Linked DNA regions of Homo sapiens: region 1 is linked to region 2. Evidence: promoter capture Hi-C in 16 types of primary human blood cells and fetal thymus (Javierre and others, 2016). All regions are on one chromosome and are shown on one strand. The core of a region is centred on a gene start or on the middle of the fragment in contact, and the rest is flanking DNA. Distances in the headings are between cores, read along the strand shown. Region 1 overlaps CILK1 (ciliogenesis associated kinase 1). Region 2 holds the start of GSTA3 (glutathione S-transferase alpha 3).

Evidence for each region. The method cuts DNA at HindIII sites, captures the fragments that hold promoters and counts their contacts. A CHiCAGO score of 5 or more calls a contact.
Region 1: a contact is called between a fragment that was not itself captured here and the fragment with the promoter of GSTA3 in region 2, in 2 of 17 cell types (total CD8 T cells and M2 macrophages). The highest score is 6.0, in total CD8 T cells.

Annotation. Positions count from the first base shown.
Region 1 is chr6:53,053,987-53,056,895 of GRCh38, reverse strand. All of the region lies in intron 1 of CILK1 (ciliogenesis associated kinase 1), which reads left to right. Among named protein-coding and RNA genes, the nearest start is that of CILK1, 6.4 kb to the left of the region's middle. The HindIII fragment of the contact is 905 bases long and covers 1,191-2,095 here.
Region 2 is chr6:52,908,337-52,911,066 of GRCh38, reverse strand. GSTA3 (glutathione S-transferase alpha 3) reads left to right here and starts at 1,369. Exons shown (of 7, transcript NM_000847.5): 1 at 1,369-1,426. RefSeq lists enhancers at 479-1,172, 1,173-1,865. The HindIII fragment of the contact is 5,455 bases long and covers 1-2,730 here.

The DNA of each region.
Region 1 (2,909 bases), core at 394-2,893, 150 kb before region 2:
CAGTACAGTTGTCCAGTTTGCAAAGAAGTGGGGCGTGACGGGATGACAGTGAGGGTGGACGTGGTAGTATAGGAAAATCATCTATGGTCAGGATTGCCTTTTAAAGCTCCATAAGTTGTTCATTCATTAGTTAATTCATTGAACATGTCTTTATTGTGAGTCCGTACTTGTGCCAACTATGCCAGTTCTCTGGGAACTGAGTACTGGGAATACAGTTGTGAATATTGCAACGTTTCTGACCTCACAGAGCTTATATTCTAAGGTTAAACACAGCTTGTATGTAGCCCTGTAACCTAGGGGTAAGTGAGGGCTCTATGGAGAGTACTAAAGTGCTTCTGCTTATTTGGGGGATTTCCTCATCTTCAGGGCTTGACAAACTATGGCTTGTGTGCCAGTCCTTCCTGCTGCCTGTTTTTGTAAATAAATTTGTACTGGAACACAGCCATGCCCATGTATTTACATATTGTCTTTGACTGCTTTCATGCTACAATGGCAGAGTGGAGTTGTGACGGAGATGGAGAGCCTGCAAAGCCTATCCTGTTTACTGACCCTTCACAGAAAAAACGTGCTTATCCCTGCCCTATTTTATTTTTACATTAAGCCTTTACTTCCTTTAATTCATTTTGATTTTTTGTATACATGCTAGCAAAGCATCTTACACTGAGATCAGCTCCTTAGTCAAATGTGTTGTAATAGCATATAAATACTGATAACATGTGGCTGTCCTTGTAACTACCGTAAAAGATAATGCGTTAGAACCAGAAAGGTAAAGTATTATTGTGTAACGTCCAGCTACTTATTTGCCAGTATCATGAAAGTTACTATCTACATGAACTTGTGATATGCTCTTAGTCACTCCCCTATCTTCACTATCCCTTATCTTGCCCACCCCTGAAACACAGGCAAGCAGGACTATTGCCACCCTCGGCAGTTTTCATTAAGCTGGGGACTCTCGTTCTAGCTCATCTACAGTTTCACACATGGCAGGGTAAAGGTTTGTTTTTCTGGCTGTTTTTTTATTTTTTATTTTTTTTAACATTTCGCCTTTACTTCAGTTCTTTACAGTCCACCAAAGCCAACTATGTGTCCTAGTTTAAAAATCATCTGCAAGTGATTGAAGAACTTTTTTAAGGTTCAAGGCGTGAGCACCTTTTATATTGTAAGAGAAGCGACAGGGAGTTATGGAAGCTTCTCATGGGATTAAGGACCTAGTGCAGGACGAGTTCTTTTTTCAGAAGCTGGGATTGAAAGAGGAGAGGGATGGTAAAGGTATGAAGAAGTTTCTGGGGCACAGAAGAAGGCACATCATGTAACGGATTATCTTCTCTTGTTAACATCCAGTTGATGCAATAGCTGAATGCATCTTTAATTCACTCCTCTGTCAAGGTAAAGACAAAGCAAGATCCATGTAAAGAAGGTCCTTTTGGCTTTGTAACTGCTATTCCTTATGCAGAAAAAAAGCAGTAGTCCAAGAGGCAAAATGCTTAAAAGGTTTGCTTGCTAAAATGTACAGAGGCAGAAGAATTAGGTCCAGGAGAAAAACATAAACCCGGATATACTATTTCTAGTACCTTTTTAAAAGAAATTAACAGTATTCACTGACTTTTGTAAAGTTAGGACACATTCAAACCTAGAATACGAAGTCTAATTATAAACCTGTAAAGGTAAAATGGAACTCAGAATTACCATGAGAAGGGTCATCTAATGATTTTGCATATAATCCACTTTTCCTAGGAGGATAAATGAAAGTAACAGAATCTTTTCAATGTAAGATAATTAATGCAAAGGGAGACAAGCTCCTTCTAAGGAACTGAATGGTGTCAGTGGGCCTGGTAAACCACAACTCCCAGAGAACCCCAAGTTTGCTGTAACTTTTTGTCTCCTGTCTTAGAAAATGTGTAATGATGGCATTAATTCATTGATTAAGGTTTCAAAATAAAGAATGAACTACAATTTTCCCTGCCCCTCGCCTCCATTTTTTAGGCTGTGAATGAGCAAGGCACCTGATGTGAGCTGCTGGCCATGAGCAAATGTTCTTTGCCTCCACCGAGGATTGACGCTGAGGGGAGGGAATTGGGGCAAATCACAGGAAGCTTTTCCCCAATGTCACCTAGCCAGGAACATCATAACATTGACTTCAAAGGTTTGCTGGAACTCTTTGAAAGAGAGATAAAGCTGTCTTTCTTTGGTAGTTGAGTACAGCCTTACCCAAAGGCCAAAGGCCTGATCTGACCGCATGGAGGGGGACTTTCTGTGATCCTCTGAGACTCAGTCATCTTGGCATTGTTGTGGGAGGGCCCAGGCTGCCTGCCTGCCCCAGCTATTCTGTGGTATTCACTGTTCTTCCACTTCAGAACTTCAGAACTTTTAGTTGGGCCCAACAGTTTATCTTTGTTTTGTGTATGACAAAATAGAAGCACTGAGAATTTTGAGGTACTTAGCCAAGGTGGTACAGAAAATAATAGCAAAGACTAAAACTCACATTTGGGCCCTTCAAACAATCTTTGAGGACTTGCTACTGCAAGTGGAGTGAGAAGACAAAGATGAAGCAGTCTTGGAGAGTGTCGAGGCTGAAGCAGAGGGTACACCTGCAGGTCATTGCCACGGGGAAGGGGCTGGCAGTGAGGTGAGGACAAGGCACTATGGCATCAAGGGAGAGGACCATTCTCGGGTCTATATGTGTAGGTTGGGGCAGGAGGCTTGGAAGAGGTGACATGTGAGCTCGAAAGAGAAGGAATCGATGTTTAATGTTTACTGGGGCCTGGCTGAGGCACTGGGGCACTTGTGCATCTCTTGAAAGAAAGGTGTGTAGCATACAGGGTCCTTCGGTGGCACTGTCTTCTCCGCTAACCTTTGTTCATGTGATGCAAAAAGCAGAAACATTTATCCTTTTTTTTTTCTTAGACAAA
Region 2 (2,730 bases), core at 120-2,619:
AACAACTGCTGTGACATTTTGCAAAAAATGTATGTCGTCAATCGAGTCATGAGAAAACATCAGATAGACCCAAATTGAGGTACATTCCACAAAATAATTGACCATTACTCTTCAAAAATGCCACCATCATGAAAGACAAGAAAAGACTGAGGAACTGCCATAGTTTGGAGGTAACTAAGGAGATGTGACAACGAAATGCAGTGCTGGGGTCCTGGATGGGATCCTGGGTTAGAAAAAAGATACTGATTGAAAAACTGGTGAAATTCAAGTAAGGCCTGGAGTTTAGTCAATAGTGTATCAACATTAAATTCCTGGATTCAATCATTGTACTATGGTTACATAAGATGTTAACATTAGCGGATGCTGGGTGAGGGGTATTTGGGAAACTTGTACTAGTTTTGCAATTTTTCTGTTACATAAATAACTCCCCCACCCACAAGTTTAAAAGATACAGATTAGATTATAGAGGAAAAAAACTAAGTCTGAGATTTGCTTCAAATATTGTCAATAATTTTTGAAGCAAGGTGATGGGTACATCAAGGCTTTGTAGTGTTCTTTCCAGATTTATGTATATCAGACAATTTCCTTTAGAAAAGTAGAAATTACATATACGTGTATTAAGCCCTTTCTATGTCCAGGCACTGTGGTTAGCCACGGGGACTTGGTTAACCACCAGGACTTGAGGCCCTGCCTCAAGGAGCTCATACTCAACAGGGGGAAAGCAGACATGATGCACGGAATGTAGAAAGAGTGATGTGATAGAGGAAGCACAGGATGCCTTGGAGCAGGGGAGAAAAGAGTGCTCCAAATAGGAGAAACAGCATGCAGAGCCTTGGGCTAGGGAGAAAGGCTAACTGGTAAGTCACAGAGAAAAATCTGCAAATGACCTCGGGGAATGCAGCTGAGGTCTTTTGTCTGCCCAGGGCAAGGACAACTCAGCCAGATTCTTTGGGCCTATAAAATTTTGTGACATTATTTGTAATTTAGTCTTTTTAAACAAATTTAGAAGGCAATCTCCCTATGCTCTTTATCAAGTCCCCTTTCCTGACATCTCCTATGACTCTCCTATGACACTTTCCTCCTCTCCCCACAATGTTTTCTCATCTGTCATAAATCTGCAGCCTATTTAACAAGATCCTCCTTAAGCAGTGTTCACAGGATACTTGGTCCCCAGTGACCTTCTGAGGCAGCCAAATAGATATGAAATCTTTTTGTGCATTTATGGATAGCCTTGAAATTAATTGCTGTCATTTTCTTCCTAGCAGATCATGGAACTCTGGAGACTAAAGTGGTGTGGGAGTGGCTGCTCCCAACTAGACTCCACCCCCTTCAGAAGGCAGGAGTTGTCATAGTATTAAAACAGCTAACATACACATCAGGAGGTGGCCTTGAGAAGCTGAGCGGAGACCGGCTAGACTTTACTCAAGTTAGTATTGACCTTAAACATCTTCATAAATGTTCTCATGTCTACTTCACTAAGAAAAACAAATTTAAATGTGTTAGTTTGTGTGAGTACTTTATGTTCTTGCTGTTTTTCTGTGTGCTTAGGAGACAATTTAAGCATTGTTTGTTAGTTCCTGAAGGACAGGTCGGTAAAGAAAAATAATATTCAACAATTTAGAAAACAAGGGCAAAGAATTTGATGATATGAGAAAAGTAAGAGTGGTATCATTGTGGGCAATCTGAAAATACAACCACATCAGTGCCAGGCCACATGCCAAAGGTTGCTTATGGAAAAGCTGTTTATTAAAAACATGTATTCGTGTGATTCATTCCTGTGATTCACAGGAGTCAACACACAATTATACTAGATTTAAAGCTGGCAGGGTCACACATTTGGGAGCACCACTTGATCAATGAAAAGAAAATACATCTGGATGGTCGTATTCCTCTAGAGCTGGCACTTCCAAATGGGAAACCAATCACCAATGCTTGACAATCAGGATCTAAATTTACACTTCCATCATTGATTTTACACAGATTAGTTTACTGCTTATATAAGTGACTTTGTGATTGAGCACCAAGCAGCATGCTATTTTTCCTTCTTCTTCTCCTCCTTCTTCCCTCCTTCTCTTTGTTCTCTTTGCCCTCTTTCTTCTTCCTCCTCCTCTTTTTCCTCTTCTGCCTCTTCTTCCTCCTCCTCCTTCTTGTTCGAAGTATCTGGGACCAAAGGGTGAGCAGGGTTTAAAGTCTCAAAATTGCAAGTGAATCTAAATATATAGGACTTTTAGGGTAGTAGGCAAGTAGATCTAAGAATAATAATAACCCCCTCTTAAGCTGTTATATTCCCTGTCCAACAGAACATGCACATTCCTTCTATATGCAAGTTCTTTCTATTTGCCAAATGAAATATTACCCTGGGCTACCCTGCCAAAGCACTTATCCAATTAAAAAAAAATATTTTTTGTGTAGTCACGATGTTTCTACTATGTGGGAGAGTTTGGTTGCTTTGATAATTCTTTTTAAACAGCAGATTGGTGGGTTTCATAATTAGGATTGGTTATTTTATTGCCATAATCCTAGCTTGGCTTTTTTCATGCTTTTTGTTTGTTTTGAGACAGTCTCATTCTGTCACCCAGGCTGGAATGCAGTGATGTGGCCATGTTTCACTGCAGCCTTAACATCTTGGGCTCAAGTGATCTTCCTGCCTCAGCCTCCTGGGTATCTGGGACTACAGGTGTGGGACACCAATCCTGGCTAATTTTTTTTTTAAATAGAGACTTTATTTAA